Linked DNA regions of Homo sapiens: all the other regions are linked to region 3. The links are contacts of gene promoters, found by promoter capture Hi-C in blood cells and fetal thymus (Javierre and others, 2016). All regions are on one chromosome and are shown on one strand. Each heading gives the region's core, a stretch centred on a gene start or on the middle of the fragment in contact. The rest is flanking DNA. Distances are from core to core; before and after follow the strand shown.

What was found. Contacts are between HindIII fragments. The CHiCAGO score rates a contact against its expected background, and 5 or more counts as called.
Region 1: a fragment that was not itself captured here is called in contact with the fragment with the promoter of FCHSD1 in region 3 in 1 of 17 cell types (megakaryocytes); the score reaches 5.9 in megakaryocytes.
Region 2: a contact is called between a fragment that was not itself captured here and the fragment with the promoter of FCHSD1 in region 3, in 3 of 17 cell types (total B cells, naive B cells and fetal thymus). The highest score is 5.6, in total B cells.
Region 4: a contact is called between a fragment that was not itself captured here and the fragment with the promoter of FCHSD1 in region 3, in 1 of 17 cell types (activated CD4 T cells). The highest score is 5.2, in activated CD4 T cells.
Region 5: the fragment with the promoter of DELE1 here is called in contact with the fragment with the promoter of FCHSD1 in region 3 in 12 of 17 cell types (neutrophils, total CD8 T cells, naive CD4 T cells and 9 more); the score reaches 10.9 in neutrophils.
Region 6: a fragment that was not itself captured here is called in contact with the fragment with the promoter of FCHSD1 in region 3 in 6 of 17 cell types (erythroblasts, neutrophils, monocytes and 3 more); the score reaches 6.6 in erythroblasts.

The regions. Positions count from the first base shown.
Region 1 is chr5:142,132,745-142,137,488 of GRCh38, forward strand. NDFIP1 (Nedd4 family interacting protein 1) reads left to right here. Exons shown (of 8, transcript NM_030571.4): 4 at 2,986-3,073. Among named protein-coding and RNA genes, the nearest start is that of NDFIP1, 26 kb to the left of the region's middle. The HindIII fragment of the contact is 2,185 bases long and covers 1,032-3,216 here.
Region 2 is chr5:142,105,018-142,109,526 of GRCh38, forward strand. It overlaps NDFIP1 (Nedd4 family interacting protein 1), which reads left to right and starts at 3,762. Exons shown (of 8, transcript NM_030571.4): 1 at 3,762-4,020. The coding sequence starts at 3,958. RefSeq lists an enhancer at 3,513-4,014 and silencers at 3,592-3,861, 3,922-4,051, 4,122-4,191. The HindIII fragment of the contact is 172 bases long and covers 2,513-2,684 here.
Region 3 is chr5:141,649,242-141,653,908 of GRCh38, forward strand. It overlaps FCHSD1 (FCH and double SH3 domains 1), which reads right to left and starts at 2,177. Exons shown (of 20, transcript NM_033449.3): 1 at 2,107-2,177; 2 at 1,779-1,876; 3 at 1,118-1,163; 4 at 646-713; 5 at 154-295; 6 at 1-67. The coding sequence starts at 2,127. It overlaps ARAP3 (ArfGAP with RhoGAP domain, ankyrin repeat and PH domain 3), which reads right to left. Exons shown (of 33, transcript NM_022481.6): 33 at 4,161-4,667. RefSeq lists an enhancer at 199-777. The HindIII fragment of the contact is 983 bases long and covers 1,851-2,833 here.
Region 4 is chr5:142,148,453-142,153,215 of GRCh38, forward strand. NDFIP1 (Nedd4 family interacting protein 1) reads left to right here. Exons shown (of 8, transcript NM_030571.4): 8 at 3,279-4,763. Among named protein-coding and RNA genes, the nearest start is that of NDFIP1, 42 kb to the left of the region's middle. The HindIII fragment of the contact is 1,139 bases long and covers 2,841-3,979 here.
Region 5 is chr5:141,921,056-141,925,929 of GRCh38, forward strand. It overlaps DELE1 (DAP3 binding cell death enhancer 1), which reads left to right and starts at 2,816. Exons shown (of 12, transcript NM_014773.5): 1 at 2,816-2,917; 2 at 3,526-3,640; 3 at 4,355-4,472. The coding sequence starts at 2,887. RefSeq lists an enhancer at 2,697-3,210. The HindIII fragment of the contact is 14,517 bases long and covers 1-4,874 here.
Region 6 is chr5:141,941,440-141,945,932 of GRCh38, forward strand. It overlaps PCDH12 (protocadherin 12), which reads right to left. Exons shown (of 4, transcript NM_016580.4): 4 at 2,142-4,366. The coding sequence ends at 3,942. It overlaps DELE1 (DAP3 binding cell death enhancer 1), which reads left to right. Exons shown (of 12, transcript NM_014773.5): 12 at 1-608. Among named protein-coding and RNA genes, the nearest start is that of PCDH12, 15 kb to the right of the region's middle. The HindIII fragment of the contact is 7,155 bases long and covers 1-4,493 here.

The sequences.
Region 1 (4,744 bases), core at 874-3,373, 480 kb after region 3:
ACATTGATTTAGATGAACTCCGTTCTTCCAGCAGTCCAGATCATGTCATTTGTGGGGACATAGTGAGTTCAGATTCCATCTAGCCTGATGTTGATTCATGGAGGTGGAGATTGGGATGCCATATAAACCAGTGGAGATTATTGGGCACTCTTGGTTCTTGATGTCAGATATGTGAGTGCTGCATTTGTCATTTTGTAAATATTCATCCAGATTGAGGCTGATGAAGGTAGGGCATTGTGGGAGAATGGAAGCAGGATAAGTCCCCAGAAATGCGGGGACCATCAGGCCTCTAGGCTCTATTCTAGCAAGTAACTGGAGTGAGTGATGAGCAAGTACAGAAGCCTAGTCTGGGCAGTGTGATGGCATAGGCCCAGATGTTCCCCTCTTGGCTTTAAGATAGTAGACAGTTTGCAGACCACACCTACTGTGAGGAGCGAAGCTCCTAAAATCATTGCTTGGTAGAAATAGTTTATGAGCCCAATCTAGGATGATCCTAAATGGCGATGATGTGCATTCAGTTCTTACAGGTACCAGGGAGAAACTAAAAACCCTAGTGTCTAAGGGCAAGACCATCATAATGTAACTGCCGTATATTGGAAGCAAACCACATGCTTGGTACTGTGCTTGATGCTTTTATATATTTTGTATATTGTTTCCAATCTTCATAGTAACCTTGAAAGGTAGAGATTATATTATCTCCATTTTACAGATGTGAAAATTTAGGTCCAGAGAGAAAAAGTAATTTTCCCAAAGTCATATGACTGATAAGTAGCAGAAGTGAAAGTCAAACCCAGATATTCTAGAATCCAAAGTCCTTGTTTGTTTCACTGTACTCTGCAGATCTGTTGCAATATATGGTAAATAGATCAGTATGGAAATTAGCTCTGATTAATCACATAACTCTTCAGAATACTTTCATTTGATACAAGTACATATTTAGGAACTTCTTAAAGGGCTCTAGTATTCAGCAGACATGTATAAAGCACTTTTTAAATATAAGATGCAGTATATTTTACAGTGGATAGGTAAAAAGCTTTGTATAAGGCAGTGTTCCTCATTGTTATTCAAAAGCCTAAAATCCAACTAGGGTAAAGGGCCCACAAATACTGATAACTAAGACACATAAGAGCAGTGGGCATCAAGAACTGAAACTTTTTACTGGGTGATCATAGGGGAAAATGAGATTTGATGTGGGCCCGGAGTTTTGATGGGTAAGAACATTCCAGAGGGAAAAAGGCACAGAAAGCAGGTGTGAATTCAGCCAGGTGAAGGCAGTTCTGTGGATGTAGTAATTGGCTTTGTATGAGCAAGAGTTTGTGAAGGGAGATAGAAAGTCCTGACTACAACTGTTGTTTATAGAATCTTTGGAATGTTAGATGGGCGTATTTAAACTTCATATGTAGCTTTTAGAGAATCCTTCAGAGTTTTTGAGCAGGGGTATGAGAGGACTTGTGTGGTGTTTTGGAAACATTAACTTGGCAGCAATTTCTAGGATGCATCATGGTAGAAGAGATACCAAGAGGACAGGAAGAACAGTTAGAAGGTGTTCGTAATATTATTAGATGTTACTTCCATATATTTTTTGGAGTATATCTTTGAATAGTTATGCAAAAAACAATTAGCTTTTAATTTTGGCAAAACCTTATTCTGCTGATACGAAGTAAGAATACTAGGTATTTAATGTTTTAAAAAATTAATTATAAAAATTCGTTTTTATAGAAATTTCAAACAATAGAGGAAGTATGTTAAGTTAGAAAAGGAAGCTGCCATTGCCACCGACTTCCCTTTCTCTAGTTCCCACTCCCCAGGGGAACCACTGTTAACAATTTGGGTCTTCCAGACCCTTTTCTGTGTACAACAAGTTTTGATATTCCCTAAAATATTTTTCATTTAAGGAGCCCTCATTGAACTGTGTACAAATCTATCACTTTTAAGTATATATTCAATTATTTTTAAATATCTCAACACACACCTATATCAGTTAAAAAGATAGCCCACATGTGTTGGTATTGTTCATGATCATGTTATTTCTAGTTTTGCAATATTACGTTATCAAGTTAGGATGGAAAAGATCTTATCTGCTGATAAGGTTAGAAGTGAGATTTAGATCTGTATACCAATACAAATACATGCTTATGGAGTTGAGCAGTGGGCAGTTCTGTGGACTATTCATGTATGATCGTACTATTCTTTTTTCCCCTATATCAGCCTCGTAAAGCACTTGAGCTGGTTGATTTTATCTTTTTTTTTTTGAGACGGAGTCTCACTCTGTTGCCCAGGCTGGAGTGCAGTGGTGGGATCTTGGCTCACTGCAAGCTCTGCCTCCCGGGTTCATGCCATTCTCCTGCCTTAGCCTCCCGAGTAGCTGGGACTACAGGTGCCCGCCACCACTCCCGGCTAATTTTTTTGTATTTTTAGTAGAGACGGGTTTCACCATGTTAGCCAGGATGGTCTCGATCTCCTGACCTCGTGATCTGCCTGCCTTGGCCTCCCAAAGTGCTGGGATTACAGGCATGAGCCACTGCACCTGGCTGATTTTATCTCTAATTACTAATATTTTAGGTCCTAAACAGGTCCTCGATTACTGATATTCTAGAATTTAAACCAAATGTGTAAGTAAATTTTGTCTTTTGTCTTTTCTTGAGGTATATTTTTTTAAAGGAAGAGTAAATAGTTCTTTGTGAACTATTCTTGAAGTGTATTGTTTTTGAAGTGTATTAAATTTTTGAAGTGTATTGTTAAAGAACTTGGGTTATAAGATGAAAATTTCATTTAGAACACTGGGGATAGAAGAAAGATTTGCTTCTTTTCTAATTATATATTAATAATGCAAAATGGAATTTTAAACACACATTGAGCCTTTAATGCTCATAATTTTGAACTGAACCAAAGCAATAACTTTTTTCCTTGCTACTCAAATTTAACCCTTCATTTTTCTTTATGTCTTCCCTTTGCCTAGAAATAATTCTTTTTCTTTTCATTTAGGATGAGGATTTTGTGGGTCGGGATGATTTTGATGATGCTGACCAGCTGAGGATAGGAAATGATGGGATTTTCATGTTAACTTTTTTCAGTAAGTATGTATGCATATCAGAACCACCCCCTACAAACTAGAGTGCTTTGGATTATGGGTGAATCTGACTGAATTAAAATAACTAGTTGAGCTAATATATTAATACATTATGTTTATTTGGTGCCTTTTACTGGAATATTCAAAGCTTAATATACCTTTGTTTTAATATCCCTTCTCTTTGCCTTCTATTTTCATGAATATCTGTGGAAAATATAATTAAAGCAGTTATGAGGATGCTGCATTTTTACATGAGCTAAGCCTCATCTTCCAGGTCTACGGGGCCCTTTTGCGTTGCTTCTACTCATACTTAATCTGTAGAATAGGAATTAAATGCCTTTGATGAATTTTGCTCTGAAAGCTTCTTTTTTCTGACAGATCAAAGTCAGCCTGATTTTCTCCCTTCATGTTACTTGCCATTTATCTTTTTGTGTGCCTCACATAGAAGTGAGCAACCATTTCCTTTATTTGTTGTATTAGAAAGATAAGAAAATGCAATGCTTTTAGAGGTGATGTTATATAAGTTGTCAAAATTCAGAGAACAGGAGGATGAGTGACTTGAATCAGATTATTTGGGGGCACTTATTTAATGTTGAAGGCATTTATTTTATTTACTGGACTATATATATATAACACACACAGTAAAAAGCAGAGGTCAGGCTGGGCATGGTGGCTCATGCCTATAATCCCAGCACTTTGGGAGGCCGAGGCAGGCAGATGCCCTGAGGTCAGGAGTTCGAGACCAGCCTGGCCACCATGGTGAAACCCCATCTCTACTAAAAATACAAAAATTAGCTGGGTGTGGTGGCAGGCACCTGTAATCCCAGCTACTCAGGAGGCTGAGGCAGGAGAATCGATTGAACCCGGGAGGCAGAGGTTGCCGTGAGGTGAGATCGCACCATTGCACTCTAGCCTGGGGGACAAGAGTGAGACTTCGTCTCAAAAAAAAAAAAAAAAAAAGAGGTCAAAGGCTGGGCACAGTGGCTCATGCCTGTAATCCCAGCACTTTGGAAGGCTGAGGTGGGCGAATCACCTGGGGCTAGAGGTTCAAGACCAACCTGGCCAACATGGAGAAACCCCATCTCTACTAAAAACAAAAATTAGCCGTTAGCCGGGCCTGGCGGTGCACGCCTATAGTCCCAGCCACTCGGGAGGCTGAGGCAGGAGAATCACTTGAACCTGGGAGGCAGAGATTGCAGTGAGCCAAGGTCGTGCTACTGCACTCCAGCCTGGGTGACAGAGTGAGACTCAGTCTCAAAAAAAAAAAAAAAAAAAAAAGCAGAGGTTGTAAGTATACAGTTTGGTGAATGTTAAGGTTTGCTTTTTGCTGTTTTTTGTTTTTTTTGCTTTTTCCTTTTGAGACAAGGTCTTGCTCTGTTGCCCAGGCTGAATTTGGAGTGCAGTGGTGTGATCACTTCTCAGTGTACCCTTGACTTCCTGGGCTCAAGTGATCCCCCCACCTCAGCCTCCCAAGTAGCTGGGACTTGCAGGTGTGCACCACTGTGCCCGGCTTTTGTTTGTTTGTTTGTTTGTTTTGTTTTTTTCAGTTTTTGTAGAGATGGGTCTCACTGTGGTGCTCAGGCTGGTCTCAAACTGCTGGGCTCGGGATCCTCCAACGTTGGCCTCCCAAAGTGCTAGGATTACAGATGTGAGCTATTGTGCTCAGCCTATTAA
Region 2 (4,509 bases), core at 1,349-3,848, 460 kb after region 3:
ACTCTTGTTGCCCAGGCTGGAGTGCAATGGCGCGATCTCGGCTCACTGCAACCTCCGCCTCTCAGGTTCAAGTGATTCTCCTGCCTTAGCCTCCCAAGTAGCTGGGATTACAGGCATGTACCACCACGCCCGGCTAAGTTTTTTGTATTTTTAGTAGAGATGGGGTTTCTCCATGATGGTCAGGCTGGTCTCCAACTCCCAACCTCAGGTGATCCTCCCGCCTCGGCCTCCCAAAGTGCTGGGATTACAGGCGTGAGCCACCACACCTGGCCAACAAAGCCCTTTTCTCGTTCAAAACCCTTTCTTCCCAATCCTTACCTGATTATCCCAGCTGGCCACATAATTCTCTTCACTATCTCTCAGCATTAGTTAATATAGCTCAACACAGTTGTAAATAACTTGTAAGTTTTATATTTTAAAAATGTCTCAAATAAGTGTTTACTATCATCTCTATTTCATCATGAAGACTCCAAAGGTTAGAACTTTCTATCTCCTGTCTATTTATGTCCCGTATTTCTCTCCACACCCAAAGCAGTGCATACATTTTGGAGCCAGACAAATCCCAGTTTGCGTTTCGACTCCACCGCTCACAAAGCTGAGTAGGTTATGTAAATTTCCTGAGTCTCTTCAAGAATCTGCAGAATGGGTTTGTTATGAAGATTAAGCAGATGATGTACCATCAGGTCCAAGATTCTGGAAGTGCTCCATAACAGTAGTAATTATCAGTGGATAATTTCTTTATTTGTAATATGAAGATATTACCTTTTGCTCTTAATGAACCTTGTGGTAATGTAGTGAGAATTAAAAGAAGTAGTAAGTCATAGAAATAAAACTTCATGGTTTAATTGGAGCCCTGTGAAGACTAGCTGGAGAAGTTCAAGGCCTCAAATGAGATATTAGACTAATGAGGCTTTTGTCTAAATTTAACACATTTAACAAACCCTTCTTGGTTACTTACTGAGCTCTGCACTACCTAGGTCAAGCCTCATGTGGATATGAAAGACAGAAGGTCACATTTATCCTAGAGATTTGTATCTATATTGCAGGGGGAAAGGGATACGGACATGAGTTATGCTTATACTTGTCCATGTTTCTTTTCTCTCTCAGGAGGGATGATTCAGAGTCAGCAATTCACATATGCAGTACTGCACATGGAAAGTATTACTGTTATTCTGTGGGGAAATAAGTTTCTAAGTGCAGCAATCTGAAATTAATAACTTTCTCTGTGGAAACTCTCTTGACAACATCTCGAGATGAAGCCAAAGAGCACAATTTTTATGGCTTTGGATTATCTTCTCTGTCTGCTTGGCTTGCACCAGGCATGGATCTGTGAGCCAGAAATTCAGTTTTCCCCTTCGTTGTACAATTTGCCTGCCAGCTGGAGGCCTAATATAGCAGTGACTCAATTTCTCAATTCTCCAATTTATCCACCCATCAAATCAAGGCAAATAATCTCAATTTACTTATTAGAGGCTTTGGGGAACTCAAGAAAAAAAAGACCAAAATCTTTACCGTGACTACAAAACATTTTGGTTGAGGACATAGGAAAAGGAGATTAGAAGTTGGAGATCAATTTTCTTTTACTTTCAATGCAAAATATTTCTATGATAAAGCCTGTTATTTATATTATGATAAATATTTGTGTCCACATGCAGGGAGTATATAGATATTGAGGGAGAAAGTAATTTAGGAAAGAAATAGAAGGGTAGCAACATCTTTTCCACAAAAGCCACAGCACTGCAGACATGCATAAAGATTGCAGTTGTTGCTCCAATAGCCTTATGTGGTAGGCCGACAAATTCTTTTTTCTTTTTCTTTTTTTTTTTCAGAGATTGTGTCTCACTATGTTGCCCAGGTTGGTCTCGAACTCCTGGCTCCTGGGCTCACGTGATCCTCGAGTCTCAGGCTCTCAAAGTGCTGAGATTACAGATGTGAGCCACTGTGCCCAGTGGACATTCTTTTTTATTCTTTCTTACACGTAAATGTAGACAATCTGGACAAAGAAGTCTGGATTTCTACTTTCCACTGCTGACATTTTAAAAAATTTCAAATTAGATTTTTGCACCCTTTATACAAGACTACATGGCAGGACATTATGTTTGATTCACTGTACCTGATTACATTTAAATGTTGTTTTTCTGGATTATAAACAACAACTGAGGGACAGAGTAAGGAGGCTCTAAATAGACTTGAGAGCTTGGAATGTTGCTACATTTGTTCGCTCTCCCAGCATGTTAATATGTGAGACTAATACTTGGAAATAGCGACAGATATAGAGGAGTTTGGATGCTGAGAGAGAACTCAAAGTGAAGATGGTAAACATCTAGAGTTTTTATTGATTACAATTTTCTCATATATACAGAAACCTCAGGGTGTGTTCTAAACACAGTTCTCTTTTAAAATACATAATTAACTAAACTTCAAAATTAGAAGCTAAGACAATAATCATATTAATATAACCTCTACACTGCCAACTTGGAAAGGCAATGAAGAAGAAATGGGAATTGCAACAAGCTTCAGAGATGGAAGATTTTGTTTTTCTCTGTAGGACATGTGGGTAGAAGCAATTGCAGATGGCTGGGTGTGAAAGAAACAGACCTTGCAAGCCTGCTATATAGCTATACTGTGCTACATGGCATTGGGAGGTAATAAGATTTAAAAGACAAATACTCTTGTCTTCACAAAGCTTATAATTTAGTTGTGCAATACTGGGTAAGAAAGCTGGCTTAATGGAGTTGTATTCCAGCTTCACCCCTTAGTAGCTCTGTGTCATTGGGTGAGATATTTAATTTCTTTGGGCATAACTTCCTCATCTGTGAAACACTGATAATTGTATCTCCTATATGGCAGCTATGCCAGCCTCCTTTCTGTTCTTCCACAAGACAATCTCTCTCTGGACCGCCCTTTGCACCTGTTCCTGTGGTCGGGAAAGCCTTTAGCATGGCCAAACCCTTCAAGTTTTGACTTCATGTCACCGAGTCAGGGAGCTTTTTTGGAAAATATTGTTTCCGATTCCGCAGATGAGGCTGTTAAAATACTAAAGGATGGCATAAACATGAGGATGCTATTATAATCATCCACCCTAAGTAGGATTTGAGATCCAAGCAGTTCTCAAGGATTTAGGGTTAGCAAACTTTTTCTGTAAAATGTCAGATAGCAAGTATTATAGGGTTTGCAGGCCATACCAAACAAATGGGTGCTGCTGTGTTCCAATAAAACTTTATTTATGGACACTGAAACTTGAATTTCATGTACTTTTCACAGTCATGGTGGCAGACCGGATTTGGCCCCCTCCCTGTCGCTGGCTGACCCCTGGTTTATGAGTACGGCAGATAAAAGAAGGGAGTGAATAAGAACCACGATTCTGCTGCCAGACACGAGGGATCAGGTCGCTGCTGTGAAGATTGTCAACCTCTCTGGTTGCCAACGACCTCGAGAATGGGGTTGTGGTCCCTGCGTCAGGGCGGTTGTGCTGAAGGCTGGATGAGGGCACGTAGGTGAAGCTCAGTGCTTGGCACGAGGTGCTCATCAGCAGCATCGCCCTTGCTTTGGGCTGGCCTGTTAGTAATTCGTTTTTAGTGGAATCGAATACAACACTTGAGCCTCGGAGGCTCAGGTCGTCGGAGCAACTACACCAGGGCCGGTGCACCTCGGGGCGGCGGCGCAGGACTAGGCTAGGCCGGGCCGGGCCGGGCAGGGCGGCGCGAGTCGGGGGTGGGGCGGCGGCGCAGCGCCGTCGTCGTAGTCCCCGCCTCTTCCCCAGGGGCCGCGTCGGAGCCTCGGCGGCGGCGGCGGTGCTTACAGCCTGAGAAGAGCGTCTCGCCCGGGAGCGGCGGCGGCCATCGAGACCCACCCAAGGCGCGTCCCCCTCGGCCTCCCAGCGCTCCCAAGCCGCAGCGGCCGCGCCCCTTCAGCTAGCTCGCTCGCTCGCTCTGCTTCCCTGCTGCCGGCTGCGCCATGGCGTTGGCGTTGGCGGCGCTGGCGGCGGTCGAGCCGGCCTGCGGCAGCCGGTACCAGCAGGTAAGCGGCGCCCGACTCCAGCCCCGAACTCCGGTCCCTGGCTCTGCCCTGCCCGCTGGCCGCCTCAGGCCTCTCTGGCCGGCCCGCGGCCAACTCGACGCCGGGGCTTGGCAGGCCGCGCTGGGCCTGGAGGGGCGGGTCGGGCCCCGGGCTCGGATTCGAGGCTGCCACGGGCCCGGCCTGCCCGTCTGCGACCCCAGGTGGGACTCCGGCGGTGGAAAGTCCTCCTCCCGGCCTCGTTTCCCGCATTTCCCAGGGCGGGCGGGTCCCTGAGTCAGAACCCGCGACCCACAGGCGGCATCGATCTGAGGCATTCGTTTTTCATTTTTCCACCTTTGGTTTGATGTCATTGGAAAAGAAAGAAAGAAAAAAGCATGAAACGGAAACTGGGTGGAGAGAAAAGATTAAAATCTCTGCTGCTGCCGATAGCTCCCCACAGCAAGATGCTATTGCTCAGGGTTTCAGAGCCTAGTTTGTCGAAACCCATCC
Region 3 (4,667 bases), core at 927-3,426:
GACTTCGGCTCAGCTCCCGGACAGACTGCAGCACCTCAGCCTGCGCCCTCTGGAGGTTCTCTGTTCCCTATTGGGATGCATACACAAAGTCCTTACCTAGACCACCTTTGGTCCCAAGCCAGCTCTTCCTTCACCCCAACCTCTGAGCCATACCTTCCTAAGCACCTGCTCCTTGGCGCTCCGCCCTGTACCCCCTGCTAGGTCACGGTATCGGTCAGACGCCTGGAGTCGGGTTTGGCCCCCAGCCACGGTGGCATCCAGCAGGCAGCGCCAGGCACCGAACACTGTCCTGCCCCTCCCCAGAGAAGGTCTGTGTTGAGGAGGAGAGCACTCCACAGCTTCATGAGACCACCCCCACCCCCTGCCCCCTGACCAACACCATGGGAGACAGAGTGCTTTCCCATCCTCCCTTGTCTGGGAGCCCATCAATCGATCAGCCCATTAGCTCAGCCACAAGCCTCACTCCTGCCCTCCACCCCACCCACAGTGTCCTTGCTGGGTCAGCTCCTCTGCTGCTGCTGTGTCAGCTCTACCTACAGCTCACGTGCCTTCCCCACTTGCTAGGCCTTCATCCCCACAGGTTCCTGGGGCTGAGCTCCCCATCACTTTTTGGCCTCTGTGGCCCTCCCCCTCCATAGGGCCCACCTGCTGTCCATCTCACCGCTCCGGTGCCCTTCCCTCTTCAGGAATGGGCCAGCCAGTTTCTGGAGTGCCTGGTGAAAAAGCCATCACAGAACCAAGTTCCCTTTCAAAGACCCACCCCAACTGGCAGAATATGACATCAGAGTATAATCATACCATTCTTTGGGTACATTATGTGCCACTTGCTTTGCTAAATGCCTTATAGTCATTAATTTGTTTAATCCTTACAACAACCCTACATGAAGGTAAGGTATTATTATTATTCCCATTTCACAGAGAAAGAAACTGAGGTCAAGAAAGGTTAAGTAACTTGTCCAAGGTCACATGGCTATAATTACACAGCAGGGATCTGACACCAGTCTGCTTGACTCTAGGCATCTGCTCTTGACCACAATAGGGATAGGTATGGACAGACATTACTGGTGATATAAGAGAGGCTGGAACAAGAGGTAAGGTCCAGAGAAAAGTCCCATACCTGCCCATACTCCCGTTCAATGGCTGCCCTCTGCTTGCTGTAGGATCTGCGGAGATTGCAGGTCGGGGGTGAGGTGGGGGATAAGGTTATGTTTGGTCCTGTTCTCCCATCCTCAGTCCTCTACTCTGGGCAGGAGGGAGCGGTTGGGGGGAGCCAGGTTCCTAGAGTGTAACTACACCCAGAGGGAATGGGACTGATGGGAGTCCTTGAGATCACCTCGGGCAGCTGCAACACAGGAAACCCTCACCTTACTGCCCCGGGCCCCAGCAGGATCCTCCCCACCCCAGAGGTTCATCTGTAGGCTTAGAGGTGAAGACTGATGGGGGCCTGGGTACGATGTCTGCCAGCCTTCCAACAGGTCTGGAAGAGGGAGAGGGATTCTGCCCTAAGGTTGATTGTGGGGTTGGGGGCAGTGGTGTGGAGTCAAGGGCTTTGAGGGAGGGTTCCTGTGTGTTTATGTGGGTGGGAGGGGGTTGGGAGGGGTTAGGTGGGGGAGCATTCCTATCCAGTATCTGGAGAGGCCAGGCCTAGGGTGAGGGCTGTGGATGGGTCGGCTGGGGAGCTCTTGGCCCCTGTTCCTCCACCCCAGCACATGTATATTGGGGAGAAGTGGCGCACAACGACGAAGGTGAGTGTAAATGAAGGGGGTTGGGGGAGCTACCTGATGTCCTCCAGCAGATCCGCCTCCCTCTGCTGCCAGGTCTGAAGGATGCTCAGCTGTTCCAGGAAGCGAAGCTTCACCTCCTGGGCCGGCTTCACCTGTGGGGGCAAAGAGAGGATGAAGACCCCAGCGCAAGGACCTAAAAAACACTCCGCGCAGGGAGCGGTGAGGGGGCGGGGCCGGGGGGGTGCTGAGCTCTTTCCTCTGTTACTTCTGGTTTGGGGTCTGACCCCTTCCGACTTCCCGTCTCCTACCACAAGTCGGATGCCCCCTTAGCTCCCTCCGTTCCCCCAGCCCGCCAGGAGTCCCCATTCAGGGCCAAGCTCACTTTTCGGGGCGGCGGCTGCATCTCCGCTCCAGCAAGGCGGTCAGCCACTGGACTCCGGAACTGGAGGAAGCCCCGCCCACTATGGAGCCCCGCCCCAGGCCAGGTCAGGCCCCGCCCTCTGCCCGCCCACGACTTGTCCGGCGACGTCGCAGGGCGCGGAAGCGAGAGGGGGCCACCGAGAAACTAAACCTGTTACTGCTGCGAATACGCCGGCAGGGTCCGGGTGGCGGGGCGGGCGGGGCGGACGCAGCGTCCGCTGGGCGGTGGGAAGAACCCCAGGCATCTGAGTCAAGACGCCTAAGTTCTATTTGTAGTGTAACCACTGATTCAGCCTGTAATTATTGATAATTATTCATTTGCATATGTAGATCCCCAGTCCCCGAGCTAATGATGAGGAATGGAGAGGAATTCAGTGTGTGACCAGGGAAACTGAGTCACTGGGCACCTGAGCAAAGATGCATCTGACGAAGAGAGGGCTGGTCCCAGACCTTTTCCTAATTCCCGCTTAACTGGAAAAGCCAGCGTGAGCGGGGTGAGAAAGATGCCTGGATCCAGGAAGGAACCAGGCCCAAAGGGAAAAAGACTTGGCCCCACTGAAAACTAAACGATACCAGTGAGTCGGCGAGAGCTGGGAGATGCGCAGGAAGCCCCTGCCACCTTTAGGATCTTCCAGCCCTAGCACTGCTTCCTGAGGAGCCTCTCCCCAATTCCTCATCCTCCTCACCTAAGCTTCTTTGGCTCAGGCACCTGTCCCAGTACCCCTGACATGTCTCAAAACTCCAGATTCACATTCCAACTCCCCACTGACACCTCTGCTAGTATATCTAATAGGAACCTCAACTTTTAAAGCTTTTAAACCTCCTTCAACCTGATCCTCCCCCCGTAACGTTTTAAATGGCACCGCATTTCCTCCAGTCAGTTAAGTCAGAAACCCAGAGTCAATGTGCCTTCTCCTACCCCTACATTCTATCCATCAGTAAGTCCTACAGGTTCTATTTCAAACAACAATAAACAAACAAAAACCTCTTGATCCACTTCCCTCAATTTCCAAGACCACCATCCTAGTCCAAGCCCCCATTATTAGACTTCTGGTCTAATATCTGATCTCCTTGCTTCCACACTGCCCTCACCCCAACCCACTGTTCACACAGCACTCAGAGTGATCAACCTTTTTTTTCTTTTTTAAAGGGAAATAAGATCTCATAATTTACTTGCTTAAAATGCACTTGCTTCAGAATAAAATCCAAATAGAATCCATGGCCTTCAAGGCTACGCATGGAAGACCCTGCTGGTCTTTCTTACTTCAGCCTGTACTCTCCTCCCACTGTCTGCTCACTGTGCTCCAGCCTCTTTGCTGTTCCCTCAGTAGACCAAGTCCCTTCCAATGCAGAGTTCTTCATGCCTGCTTTCTTTCTCCAGAATCTCCTCCTTCCAGCGTTCCATCTGTCGCCTCCAACAGCTTCTTTCCCTTACTTTGCAACTCTTCACAGATGCCTTCCCCATCCACCCATCCAAAGACCATCTCCACAATCACTCTTTTTTTTTTGAGATGGAGTCTTGCTCTGTTGCCAGGCTGGAGTGCAATGGTGCAATCTCGGCTCACTGCAACCTCCACCTACCAGGTTCAAGTGATTCTTCTGCTTCAGCCTCCCGAGTAGCTGGGATTACAAGCACGTGCCACCACAACCAGCTAATTTTGTATTTTTAGTAGAGACAGGGTTTCACCATCTTTGCCAGGATGGTCTCAAACTCCTGACCTCAGGTAATCCATCCCCCTCAGCCTCCCAAAGTGCTGGGATTACAGGTGTGAGCCACTGCGCCTGGCCTCCACAATCACTCTTCAAGCTCATCACTTTGGTTCAGTTTCTTCACAGCACTAAACTCACTTGTTCAAGTACTGGTTTATGTGTTTATTTGCTATTTTCTGTTCCCCTCCACAACGGAGGATTCATAAGAGCAGGGGCCCTGTTTGTTTTGTTCATGCTATATCCCCAGACCTGGCACCAATTAGGTGCACAATACATATTTGTTGAATGAATGAATGAGAATGGTAGTCTTTTGGTTCCCAGGTTTATTGACAATTACTCATCTATTTTTGACTCCCCGAGTCCCAGCTCCCAAACTCGCTCTCCCTACTCCAGGCTTCACGGTAGTCCCAGAATGTAGGAAGTGGGACAGGATAGACTTTAACATCACCCAGGCCTCTGGTTTCCAAAGCATTTTTTTTCTTTAATGCAGTAAAACCATTCCTTTAAAACCCAAAATCTCTCATGGAACCCCTACGTATCAAATATATAAAGCAGGAGCTGCCCTTGTTCAGGGATAATATGTGGGGCTTATGGCTCTAAGAAACACAGTTTGACATTCACTGCTCTCCTTACTTCAGTTACCTCATGGTATAGATAAATGGGCTGGGCCCAGAGAGGGGCCATGACCTGTCCTGGGACACGCAGCCACTGAAGCCTTTAGTCCAGTGCTCCTTCCACAGCACCACACTGGATTCTGGAGTCTTTCCAGCCAGGGCAGAGGAAGCTGCAACAGTGCCACGATAAGAGTTTCTG
Region 4 (4,763 bases), core at 2,160-4,659, 500 kb after region 3:
AAGAAGTATGTGACTGGGCCGGGCGCAGTGGCTCACGCCTGTAATCCCAGCACTTTGGGAGGCCGAGGTGGGCAGGTCACCTGAGGTTAGAAGTTTGAGACCAGCCTGGGCAACATGACAAAACCCCGTCTCTACTAAAGATACAAAAATTATCTGGGTGTGGTGGTGTGCACCTGTAATCCCAGCTACTTGGGAGGCTGAGGCAGAAGAATCGCTTGAACCCAGGAGGTGGAGGTTGCAGTGAGCCAAGATCACACCACTGCACTCCAGCCTGGGCGACAGAGCGAGACTCTGTCTCAAAAAAAAAAAAAAAAAAAAAAAAAAAGTATGTGACTGAGGAAGCAGAAGAAACAGATACCTGTTATAAACATCTGTACCTGAAATGGTAAAAAATGTAAAGTGTTTATACTTTTCTTATTTACCAGTTCACTGGAAAATACATTTTTATGGATTACCACCTCCTCTGATGCTGCCAGGTGAATGAGGAGTTAGCTACAGTAATAAGGTGGTAACACAGTTGATTGGTTATATCTAACACTATTTGTGTGGTACCAAAAGCACTTGTACATATGAAGCATAATATATTTTAAAATTATTTATTTTAACTGCATCTGAAATAGAAGGAAAAAAGGAGGTTTTTGAGCCCTAGCATTAATGAGCTAGGGCCTTCATAATTAAAAAAGTGACCTAGTGAGCTGTACCTATTAGGCATCAAATATTTTAATTTTTTTCCATGTGATAACAGACACTTTCATTTCTCCTTTTCTGTAATTTTTCTCCTGTTCCTTAATACTTCTTTTATTTTATTAAAGGAAATTCATCTCAAGGTAAAGGTTTACTTATTGGACTATGTTATAAGATAGCAAGATAATAGGGAAATGGTGTTTCCAGTAGAATTTTTGCTAAACAAAATTTACATGTCTCCAAGAAGAACTGGTTGTCTTCCTCTTGGAATTAAATGATCTGTAGGCTATTGGATTCCTTTTTTTTTTTTTTTTTTTTTACAAAGTGATCTGATCTATAATTTAGTAATACGGTCCAGAGTCCCTAAGATCTGTTTGTTCTTCAGTTTGTGTACTGCCAGCATTTCTGTAACACTGCCACTCAAGCCTCCAAGTCTCAGACAGCAGTGCCCTCTAGCAGTCTTTCATTTGGAGATTGTGTGGTGATTGAGATTACCCACTGGTGACCTCTCTAGGTCCTCTTGAGATATTTTATTTTAATTTAATTTTTACTTCTCTTACTGAACAAGCAAAGGGATTTTTAATGTTTGTTGGGTGTCAGGCTTTGACTTTGAGGGATCTATTAAAGCTGTTTACCTATGCTAAAGCATCATAAACTAAGGAAGTGGCCAGGTAATTGTCCGTACCATATTGTATATTCTTGCAAACTCTGTTTTGACCTACTAGTCACTGTTTCATCAGTTTTCATCTATTAAAAGAAACTGGGCCAGGCATGGTGGCTCACGCCTGTAATCCCAGCACTTTGGGAAGCCAAGGCGGGCAGATCACGAGGTCAGGAGATCAAGACCATCCTGGCTAACACAGTGAAACCCCGTCTCTACTAAAAATACAAAAAATCAGCTGGGTGTGGTGGCGGGCGCCTGTAGTCCCAGCTACTCGGGAGGCTGAGGCAGGAGAACAGCATGAACCCGGGGGGCGGAGCTTGCAGTGAGCCGAAATTGTGCCACTGCACTCCAGCCTGGGTGATAGAGCGGGACTCCGTCTCAAAAAAAAAAAAAAAAAAAATATATAGAAACTGATAAAACAAATTATTTATGTTTATAATGAGTCTGGCCTCATTGCAAAAACATTCATTTAATATTCATCTGCCAATTTTCTTTTTTGCTTCTGCTTGGCTTTTAGAGTTCCTCATATTTTTGTGTCTCTGTCTCTGTGCTTTCCGAGGTCTTTCAATCTCTTATGTCTCTCAATCTAAAGAAAAGATGTCCTTGTATCAGTTTCAGTGGTTTACTTCAAATCACAACACAAATGAATTTATAGTTTGGAAAAATGTTGATAATATTAAAATATGTTCATTTCCTCCAGTGTGTTTGTAGTCTCTCTCCATTTTGGCAGCCTTTTAAATACTTACGCAGTAATCTAATCAGAAAAGATACAGAAGACACCGGGCATAGTGGTGCACGCCTGTTAGTGCCAGTCACTTGCGGGGCTGAGGCAGAAGGTTGGCTTGAGCCCTGGAGGTGTAGGTTGCAGTGAGCCGAGCTCGCGCCACTGCACTCCAGCCTGAGTGACAGACTCTTGTCTCCAAAAAAAAAAAAAAGAAAAGAAAAGAAAGAAAAGACATAGAAGAGTTTCTTGTGGCTTTTATAGTAATTTGGAGGATAGAAAAGTAAGTTATAGGCCGATATTTGAGCCCATCCAACTCTCACTTCTTGCTGAGTACCACAAAATAGTTTCTCAATAAATGTTTATTAAGCAGTAAATGTATCTCTTTAGTGTTTCTTCTTTTATTCTTAATAGTTCTTCTTTTATTGTTAATATAGGGAATTACTTGTAGTTTTTCCCAAGTTATTTTCATGAGAACCAAAACAATATACTAGTACAGAAATGCCTCAAAGTATTAGATGAAAACTGCATTTAGTAAAATGCGTAGGCATTATTTCGAGAGCATTTATTTCAGTCAGATATATTCCTTTCTTAAAATTTAGTTTGAAAGTACATGTATTATTTTAAGAGAAACATGCCCCAAATACAATGACTTTTTAGGAAAACTTGTTTTTTAAAAGTATTTGTGGTACCTGTGAGTTTATCCTTGTTTTCTAATTTTGCCATGCTCGGTTGAGGTATAGCATGACATGGTTGGCATCCTTACTGGAAAGCTTCCTTGTGCAATATCTAGTGGAATTGTTAGGGTAAACAGTATCTTCAGGTATATTAGGAAAATTACTTGTGCACTTGGATTATGCTCTCTGTCCCAAGTTTCAGTCATTGCTGACAGCGTTCAGTGTGGGATGCGCAGTAGCACTGCTTCCATTGTATTCTTTTGTTAAGAGGTTTGGAAAGAGAGACTCCTGACTTCAGGAGTTTTTAGAAAAAGCATTCCAGTTTTTTCTAGTTCTAGAGGCCTTGATAACTTTAAGAACTGAAATTTTAATGTTTATTGAATACCGTGATGTCAGTATACAGTAATCTTAAAACTATGTTAAAATGCACTTGTGTCTCCAAACATCCTGCCTTCTTTTGTGACTACATCCTTCTCTTAGCCAAAATAACAAGCTAACTAGAGTTTCAATATTCAATATCCTTCTCTGGCAGATGTTTTCTGGCAAAGGCCTTCCTGCATTTATGAATTCTCTCTCAAGAAGCAAGAGAACACCTGCAGGAAGTGAATCAAGATGCAGAACACAGAGGAATAATCACCTGCTTTAAAAAAATAAAGTACTGTTGAAAAGATCATTTCTCTCTATTTGTTCCTAGGTGTAAAATTTTAATAGTTAATGCAGAATTCTGTAATCATTGAATCATTAGTGGTTAATGTTTGAAAAAGCTCTTGCAATCAAGTCTGTGATGTATTAATAATGCCTTATATATTGTTTGTAGTCATTTTAAGTAGCATGAGCCATGTCCCTGTAGTCGGTAGGGGGCAGTCTTGCTTTATTCATCCTCCATCTCAAAATGAACTTGGAATTAAATATTGTAAGATATGTATAATGCTGGCCATTTTAAAGGGGTTTTCTCAAAAGTTAAACTTTTGCTATGACTGTGTTTTTGCACATAATCCATATTTGCTGTTCAAGTTAATCTAGAAATTTATTCAATTCTGTATGAACACCTGGAAGCAAAATCATAGTGCAAAAATACATTTAAGGTGTGGTCAAAAATAAGTCTTTAATTGGTAAATAATAAGCATTAATTTTTTATAGCCTGTATTCACAATTCTGCGGTACCTTATTGTACCTAAGGGATTCTAAAGGTGTTGTCACTGTATAAAACAGAAAGCACTAGGATACAAATGAAGCTTAATTACTAAAATGTAATTCTTGACACTCTTTCTATAATTAGCGTTCTTCACCCCCACCCCCACCCCCACCCCCCTTATTTTCCTTTTGTCTCCTGGTGATTAGGCCAAAGTCTGGGAGTAAGGAGAGGATTAGGTACTTAGGAGCAAAGAAAGAAGTAGCTTGGAACTTTTGAGATGATCCCTAACATACTGTACTACTTGCTTTTACAATGTGTTAGCAGAAACCAGTGGGTTATAATGTAGAATGATGTGCTTTCTGCCCAAGTGGTAATTCATCTTGGTTTGCTATGTTAAAACTGTAAATACAACAGAACATTAATAAATATCTCTTGTGTAGCACCTTTTACTGTAGATTAGTGCTTAATTTCTTGGCTTGCATTTGTTGATTGCTAAGGCAATTTTTTCTAATCTTAGGGAATCATTCAGTAGATGCGATTAAAAAACTAATGTTGGGTCAATTTTTTTCTTCATTTTCAGCACAAGAAGTCCTCTTATATCCTACTAAATACATTCCTAAAAATGTATTTGAACATTGGTTCTGTAAAAGATAATGGACTAAAAAAGTAGAGAGGAGTTGTAGAGATCTTAAATCATTCTGGAATTCCTAATTATGCTTCAATTTTTAGACATAATTTTAGATAATTTATTTCCAGTGTTTTCTGCATGTTCTCATTTGTTCTTTTTCTCAGTTGAATGCACCAACTGGTTTGAGTCCTGTGAGCATTCAGTCAGTTGAAATTAAAGATTCCTCATTTCTCCTGATTTCTATTCTTGTCTCA
Region 5 (4,874 bases), core at 1,566-4,065, 270 kb after region 3:
GTTTATGGGGACAAGAGATGCCATAATGCCATTCTATACATGGGGGCAGATGTCCTAGTCTCTCCTTCAAAACTTTTCAACTAGCTTCAAACAGGGAGGGCCCTCAATGAATGTTTGTATCTGCAATGAATACATTTCCACTCAAATCAGTAAATCCCCTGGCTGGGGTCTGGTACCCTTGGCTGTAATAATCATTAGTACAAGATGTTCTGTCAACAGGGATTGTTTGGACATATTCTTTGGGCTGACAATTTATGTCAAGCCCTATGTGGGACACGGAATAGGGAAATGCTATTCCTGTCCTGAAAGGAGAGAACTGGGAAGGCTAGAGTTACACAAATGAGATAAATACCAAGACAGCATATAATTACTGCTAAACTGTGTAGTAAGAAATTAAGTGCTATAGGAATTGGGAAAAGTAGGGAGCAGGGAGGGCTCAAACAGTTGAGGAGTCTACACTGAAGAGCTGGGATTGGGCTGAACCTTGAGAAATGACACAAACTATGGATAGTCTGAAAGGAAGGAGGGTACAAAAGACGCAGGAGGAAGAACACAGCCAAACCAGCATACTTGTTTGTTACTTTATTTTCGGGACAGCAACACAAGGAATGTGAAAGGTTGCCGTCCCAAATCCCGAAGCAAGGCTATTTCTGAATAGTTGTCCAACATTCAAACTTCTGGGCCTTTATTTATTGTTTCCTCCGCTTGCAATGCCTTTCTTCCTTCTCCACCTGGCAAGCTCTTATTCACATTTAAAGGCCCCGCTCAAATGCAACTACTTTTCTGAAGCCTTCCAAGGGATCCCACAATCCATTGTTCATGCTTCTATGGGAACCTAACCTATTACACTTGCCTGCTTACCTCCCCTACTAATATAATTAATAGCAACTTACACTTACTGGGCTTTTACTATGTGCCAGGAACTATGCTAAACATTTTTATTTATTTATTTTTTATTTTTTGAAGGGTATTCCCAAAACACCAAGTTAAACATTTTTAACATATTATTTTATTTAAACCTCACAACAATTGCATGAGGTATTTTCCCTATTTTACGGATGAAGCTCTTGAGACTTAGTGTGGTTAAGGAACCTGCACAAGATAACATACCTACGAAGTAAGCAAGCTGTGATTCCAACCCAGATTTGTGGGACTCCAAAGCCCACTACTAATCCACTGGACCGTGTTCCTGGAGGCCACAAATGCTCTTTCCTCAGCTGTCTTCTCAGATCCTAGAACGGGCTGATATATGGCTCAAAAGTTCTTTAACGGCCAGGCACGGTGGCTCAAGCCTGTAATCCCAGCACTTTGGAAGGCCAAGGCAGGAGGATCACCTGAGGTCCAGGAGTTCGAGACCAACCTGGCCAACATGGTGAAACCCTGTCTCTACTAAAAATACAAAAATTAGCAGGATGTGGTAGCAGGCGCCTGTAATCTCAGCTACTTGGGAGGCTGAGGCAAGAGAATCGCTTGAACCTGGGAGGCAGAGGTTGCAGTGAGCCGAGATCACACCATTGCACTCCAGCCTGGGCGACAGAGAATCCGTCTCAAAAGAAAAAAAAAAGTTGTCTAACATATTAATACAACTTTCAAGCCACATGCCTCGGTCTAAAAGTAGGTGCCCCCAGTACACTTTTACCCCAGGTAGCAACTTCCACTCACCTTAAAGTCACATACCTGGAGGAAGGGGATAGGGAGGAAATCTAAACATCTTATACTTGAATGTAAGCTCCGTTATTTCACGGATTCAAATGTGGTGAAAGGAACTATTTTTTTTTCCTTTTTTTTTTGAGATGGAGTCTCACTCTGTCGCCCAGGCGCGATCTCGGCTCACTGCAACCTCCCGTCTCCCGTGTTCAAGCAATTCTCCTGCCTCAGCCTCCAGAGTAGCTAGGATTACAGGCGCCCACCACCACGCGCAACTGATTTTTGTATTTTTAGTAGAGACAGGGTTTCACCATGTTGGCCAGGCTGGTCTCAAACTCCTGACCTCAGGTGATCCGCCCGCCTCGGCCTCCCAGAGTGCTGGGATTACAGGCGTGAGCCACCGGGACCAGACGGAACTATTCTTTTCCACAAAAGAACAAACACATACATAACTTTTGCCACGTCTGAAGACGAGGGTTCTAATAGGGCGCGGGTGGTGTCTCAGGTATTTTGAAAGGAGCTACCCAAGAATCTCAGCTTGTCAGGCCAGTCATTCCATTTGACCCTATCTGGCGCGTATTGGGGCCCCGACAAGGTAAGGGGTTGGCATGAAGCTGCACAGTGAGATAAAGCTGGACCGGAGCTAGAACCCAGAATCAAAGCCTTGCCCTGTGCGGTTTCTCATCGCCTACGCAGTCGGGCCCTGGCCTGGCATCTCCAGGCAGGTGGCCTTGGACGGAAGCCCGGCCTACTGGCTTCATTTGTGGGACCCCGGGGGTCCTCTCCTCCGCCCATGGAGCCTGGTTACTCCCACTTCCTCAAGCCTAGGGCCTGGAGAAGCCTTTCCTGGTTCGCGGCCTCACGGTCTGCAAGGTCCTCTTACTTCCCTGAAGCCGCTCCAGCCCCACTTCCCGAAGGTCCCGCTTCCGGGTGGCTCGCTTCGCCACCTGCGGTCCCCTGCCTCGGCTTGGGAACGCCAAGGACATCCCCCACGGAAGCCTGGGCCCACATCCCCATGCCCTTGCCGCACGTCACCGCCCCGCTGGCCCCGAATACGCCTCCGCCCTGCACTTCCTCTCTGCAGCGCCGTCTTTCCGGCCGGGCTCCCTTCTAATTGGCCAGCTCAGAGCTTCCTCGGGTACTCGGCCACTCGGGGCATCGCGGCGGCCTTTCTAGCCGCTGTCCCAAGGGTTGGTCTCGCGCTTTCGGCTGCGAGCTCTCTGTGGTGCTGGCAGCGACATGTGGCGCCTCCCGGGACTCCTGGGCCGAGGTAAGGGACGTCCAAGCAACCAGCGTCACTCTGGGCCGCAAAGACCGAACTGGAGTGGGGGCGGGCCCGAGGAAACAGCCGAAGCGATCGTGGGCCGGGTTAGAGCCAAGGAAGGCGGGGCTTGAAAGAGGGCGGGGAAGTCAGGGGCTGCTGGAATTTGAGATGTGGATGGGCCTAGCTAGAAGAGGGTGGAGTCCAAGAAGTTGGTAGGACTGTTGGGAGGGGGAGGAGTCCAATGGCAGGAGATGGTGGACTGAATGAATGAAAGAGGATTAGGGGCCAATGGAGTAGGCATAGCCAGTGAAGAGAGGAGAGGTTTAGAGTCAAAGAGCCCCAAACATTAGTGAGAGTATATGTATGAACGTTTGGTCATCTTAGAACAGTGGTTGGCATCCACAGGAGACCAGCAGAATCACATGGGCGCTTTTAAAAAACGTGGATGCTCTACCCTGAGAAATCTTAGTTTATTGGTTCTGGGGTACTACCCTAGAATCTGTAGTAGATAAAAGATTCCCATGTGTATCCATGTTTAAGAACCTCTGCTGAGGCAGATGACAGTGATTCCTGGGTTCTTGTTGAGGTGCCTGAGTTTTGGTTGTTCTGTACAGCTCTTCCCCGTACACTGGGACCTAGCCTCTGGAGGGTGACTCCTAAGTCCACCAGCCCAGATGGGCCTCAGACTACCTCCTCCACTTTGCTGGTTCCTGTGCCTAACCTCGACAGGTAAGATACTGCCATTTTACCACTCATTTCCTCCCCTAGTCACCCTTTTTTTTTATTTTTTTTTTTTTGTTGTTTTTTGAGATGGAGTCTCATTCTGTCGCCCAGGCTGGAGTGCAGTGGGGCAATCTCAGCTCACTGCAACCTCCGCCTCCCAGGTTCAAGCAGTTCTCTGCCTCAGCCTCCCGAGTAGCTGGGATTACAGGCACCCGTCACCACACCCTGCTAATTTTTATTTTATTTTATTTTTTTTGAGACAGAGTCTCGCTCTGTCGCCCAGGCTGGAGTGCAGTGGCGCGATCTTGGCTCACTGAAACCTCCGCCTCCTGGGTTCAAGCGATTCTGCTGCCTCAGCCTCCCAAGTAGCTGGGATTTCAGGCATGCACCATCACGCCTGGCTAATTTTTTTTGTATTTTTAGTAGAGACGGGGTTTCACCATGTTAGCCAGGATGGTCTTGATCTCCTGATCTCATGATCTGCCCGCCTCAGCCTCCCAAAGTGCTGGGATTACAGTGTGAGCCACTGTACCCAGCCAATTTTTATATTTTTAGTAGAGATGGGGTTTCACCATCTTGACCAGGCTGGTCTTGAACTCCTGACCTCGTGATCCACCCACCTCAGCCTCCCAAATTGTTGGGATTACAGGTGTGAGCCACCGCACCCAGTCCCTGGTCTCCCTTTGCCCCTACTTGATAGCCTCTTATTTCATCATCTAGGTCAGGTCCCCATGGCCCAGGCACGAGCGGGGGTCCAAGGTCCCATGGATGGAAGGATGCCTTCCAATGGATGTCTTCCCGTGTCTCCCCGAACACCCTATGGGATGCCATATCTTGGGTAAGGCTTCCCCAGCCTGGTCCTTGACCTTCAGTGTAGATGAGAATGATCCTTCATGGGTATACAGCCGAACCTGGAACAAGGGCTAGGGAATCACTGTGTCCATTTAACAAGTAACCCATGGTATTGGAGCATATTCAAGGAGATATTGCCACTTTCCACACCCCCGCCATGTATGTTTTCCTCATTTAATTCAGTAAACATTTATGTAACACCTTGTCTGGGCCAGGCATTTTTGCTAGTCACTACGGACATAGCAGAGAACAAGATAGATACATTCTTGCCTTCATGGATCTTACAATAAATAATAATACATTGCATCTTTTTTTTATTATTCATTTTTTTTATTTTTAAATTATTATTTTTTTCTGAGACAGAGTCTTTCTCTGTCGCCCAGGCTGA
Region 6 (4,493 bases), core at 1,157-3,656, 290 kb after region 3:
AGTCACTGCGGTCTTGATCCAGCCCCAGGGGGATGGGCTTCACTGGCAGAGCTGGGTACTGCTGTGCTTTTGCCATTAAAATTCTGTTATTAATGACTCATCATCAGTGCCCCAGAGGAAGTGTGAGAGGACGAGAGGGAGGTGGCTCCCATCAGCAGGGCCAGCCTGGGTCAGGATGCTGGGTTAAAGCCCGGCGCCCTCACCAATGAGACCTTTGTGGGAAGCTCTACTGCCTCAGTTTCCCTATCCGGAGATGCTGTTTTCAGGGAGTCCTGACACTATGATGGGAACAAGGCTATTTGGTTTACTATATCATTAGTGCTAATATAGTGTGGGGCACTCAGATGTTCAGTAAATATACATTCAACAAATAAGTGAGTGATTATACTCAACTCCCCCCACCCAATGCCCAGCACCAAGCCTACCCAGCACATAGTAGGTACTTTAAGTAATTTGAATGAATAATTTTAAATAACTTGAATGAATAATTCTGTATTGCCCCCCACTCGCCGCCTATACACACGCACACACGCACACACACACACACGGTTTCCTGTGCTACTTCTGGCACTTAGTAATTATTCAATAAACACAAAATGTTTGTTGCATGAGTGTTTCTGATCATGTCCTACTCCTCCCACGTTGTACCCAAAATTTAGTAGGAGCTAGAAAATGCTTATCTATTTTCTAGGTACACACTATGTGCCAGGCCAAGCCTCTCCTTCCTCCTGTCCTCTCTTTTTTGGGATTTGGTTCTCTCCAGAGTTTCAAAGGTAGTGGTTGCCACATCACTCTTATTTCAGCCAGAGAAGAGGCAGCGTCAGTGAGCTGCCAAACTGAAGTTGGGTGACAGACAAGGCAGCTGCCTGTCAATCTCTGAGCTGCCTCCAGGCTCTGAGTGAGCACTGCATTGCACTCCTGGTGCTGGAGAACGGCTGACTATTGATTTAAAAAATGTCCCTCTATGCTTTCCAAATTAGGACGACATGTAACAGTGCTTGCTGGCTCGCCTGCTCCCTCAGTCTCCCAGGGGACAGAGCCCATCTTGGTGGAAACTGTTTTGAGCGTGTCCAAAGTCTCAGCTTTGACATCTTGGCTGATGTCAAGAAATTTCTGTAACCTTCCTGTTCAACACACCCAGTTCTGTTACCATAGACACGGTCTCACTCTGAGCTGTTATTGGGAAAGGTGCTGGTATCAGCTCATCAGGAGGGGACACATGGTGCAGGAGAGAACACTGTCCCTCACGTACATACACCCCCATTCTGATCAAAGTTCAGAACAGGAGCAGCTCTACGCAGGAGTTCTCCAGGTTCTGCAGGGAAGGCAGGGCTGAGGGCTGACCTAGAGGATTGTAGTGCTTTCTAATCTTAATTGGGCCCGAAATCTCTTTGAGAATCTGATCTAAGCACCTACTTCTTTCCATAGAAAAAATGCATATCCTCCCAATTTTGCATGTAGTTCAGTAGGTTCATAGATCCTGAAGTCTAACCAAAGACGTCAGATTAAGAATCCTTGATGTATTAAAAAGACCACCATACTAAATCCCAGATCCAAATCCTGATTTGAGCAAGCACTCAGTTAAATGTCTTAATTTGGAAAGCTCTCCCCCACAAACCTGCCAGGTGGCCTTGGGCAAGTCATCTGCCGTTTCTTTCTATATTCTTGGCTATAAAATGAAGAGTTGAAATAGATAAAGTTCAGACTCTTTATGACAACTGCCCATGTCTGTGGATGTTTAGATAGTATCTTAAAGCAATGCTGTGTAACCTTTTAAAGGTCAAGGTTTCCTTTGAGAATCTGATGAGAATTTTGTATCTTCTGCCTAAAAAAGTGTCTAGACACAAAGTTTTACCTAGTATTCAGGGTGCCCAAGGAGTACAGATTTAGGGCTTTTGAACTAGAATGATGCAATGGTCCCATGTGTCTAGTGATCCAGTTGCCAGCTATAGCTCCAGCTTCCTCAGGTCATCTCCCCCTGCCCACTCTCTTCTCTCCACCCTCCCAACATCTGCTCTGCACTGAAAATCTGCTGGTAACTGGGAGGTCACCATGGTCTACTCCAGTACTGTGGTTCTCAGACTTTGCTTTTACATCACAGAGTCTTTTTTTCTAATGAAGTCCTACCTGGAGCTCCAATATGGATAAAAGGGGCCTCTGAAGCATTTATTGACACATTTATTCATTCATACATCCATTCAACAGCTATTCATCAAGTGTTGCTTTGTAGCAGGCACCTGGCTGGTCAGGCTGGAGACCCTGCCTGCCTGCTTGATATCCCCCAGTTTCTCTCACTGGCCCACAGAACCCAACAGTTCTGTGATCCAGCCTGAAAATCACAGATTCTGTAAGGAGATCACTCTGGCCTAGAGTGAGGTGAGGAGAAACTCTGCCCCTGAAACTCATAACTTTGGGGAGCCTCATTTTCTTCATCTGTAAAATGGAATAATGATACCACACTGTATTCCAAGTATGTATGATGCACATTATCCCTAGTTGGGAGTATGATTGGCCCATTTCTTGAACAGTGAACATGAGCACTGAGCTCCAAGAAAGGACAAAAAGAGGAGCAGATAGAGGAACTTTTGCCTGCAGTGTCCAGGAGAGACCCACACTATTTAGAAGCTAGCTGATTGGCTGCTCGGAAATTTCCAAGAAAATTATAAAGCTGAACCTTGGGAAAATATCTGCTGTTTCTTCCCTCCCCCATCCCCTGGAAGGCTGGCTGCTGTCAGTGCCGATTTCATAGACCCAGTTCACACAGCGTCCTCTGGGATTCACAAGCCTGAACCTGCAATGACAGAGGAAGGTTTACCCGCAAATGGGGTTGGGAAAGATGACATCCGCACTTGAAGAGCTACTTGTTGGGAAAGAACGGGTCTGCATCAGTTCAGATCCAAGTTCCTTTTGCCTTGTGCTTGGGAATGTAGAGAGGTGCGGGCCTGGATGGCTTTGGAAATGTTCCTTTCAACAGTGTTTCCCGAGGGAGCTCGAGCAAGTTCACTGCTGCCAACAGCTCACCTCCAGGGCCTTCCCTTCTCCTGTCTTTGGTTGGCAGGCTGGTGTCAAGGTTGAAGGCATGGGTTTTGGTGTTGGCCCAGCCTGGGTCCAAATCCTGGCTCTGGCTCTACTCCCTGCTTGATCTTGGGAAAGCCACTTGACCTCTCCAAGCCCCATATCCGTGTCTGTGAAATGGGGTTAATAATACCTCCCTCCCAGGATTGTTGGAAAATCAAATTAAATCCTATTGTAAAGCCTGGTGCCTGGCTCATGTAAATGCTTTATAAATAGTTGTGCTTTCTTAGCTCTAATTTTGCAGCTGAGAAGCAGATTAGTTGGTAACATAGTGATAGGGGAACAGGGGTAAGAGCACACATGTCTGCTATTTGTGTACCTGTTACTGTGTACCAAGGTGCCCCACTCCTGTCCAGGCCCAGTGTGACGGTCTTGCCAGGGATTGGATGACAAATAAACCCCACTCTATTACTCTTCCCTTCTCCCTCTTGACAGGTGCAAACAGGAGAATGAATCACTGCTTTTCCTTTATTGATAGGTCAGAGAGCATTTCCTGGCACCCCCAGGGTACAGCCCCCTGACTCCTGCTACCCAAGAAGGCCACCCTTTCCTGCCTGTGATACTCCGTGGCATCTGTTCTGCCAGAGGACTGACCCTTTGTGCTCCACATATGTTTTGCCAGGAAACACTTATCTCAGCCACAAACCGTCCCTGTCCTCCAAAAGACTCAGAGCTGCTTACAAGGGGCTGCTTTGGTCAGTCAGCTGTTAGTCCTGGGGCTCTTGCCTCCTCTGTGGGGGTAGCATCAGTCACCCTAAAGTTCTCAGGCCGCCGCTAGCTAGTGAGTTACAAGATTTTAGAAACCAGCTCTTGTCCACAGATCCTCAGGCCCCTGGTTCTTGGATCCAGAGGCGTCTGAGGTATGTTCACAGGCACCTGCTGCTGCTGCTGCTGCCTCTGCTCTTGCCCTCAGTCCCCGTCTTTCCACCTGGGTCCCCTTGCACTTTCATGCCTGAGGCTGCACTGGTGGCCAAGTCTAAACTGAGGGTCCTCCCGCAGACCGAGAGCCGCCGCAGCGCCTCGGAGGCGGCCTCCACGGGCATGCTGGAGCGCTGTTCCAGCAGCATCTCCAGCAGTGAGCTCATCTCCGAGACAAAGGTGCTGGCCAGCCTCGTGCCTGTTGGGCTCAGCTCTGGTGCCTCTGCCTTGCCGAACGTCTGGAAGGTCCTTGGCTCCTCCGTGGCTGCAGCATCCGGGGAGATCACATTGTCACGGTAGTTGGTGGTGAGGGGCAAAGAGAGTCTCGCCATCCAGGCCGGGTCAGGGGCGCTCAGCCGGTCCAGGGCCAGACCTGTGGGGGAAGGAGGGGACACAGTGAGGGCCAGGCTCCGGGAAGGGCCAGGCGGGTGAGGGTGGGGCAATGAGCAGGGCAAGGGCAGTGGACAAAGGAGGGAAGGGAAATGGCAGGGGACAGACAG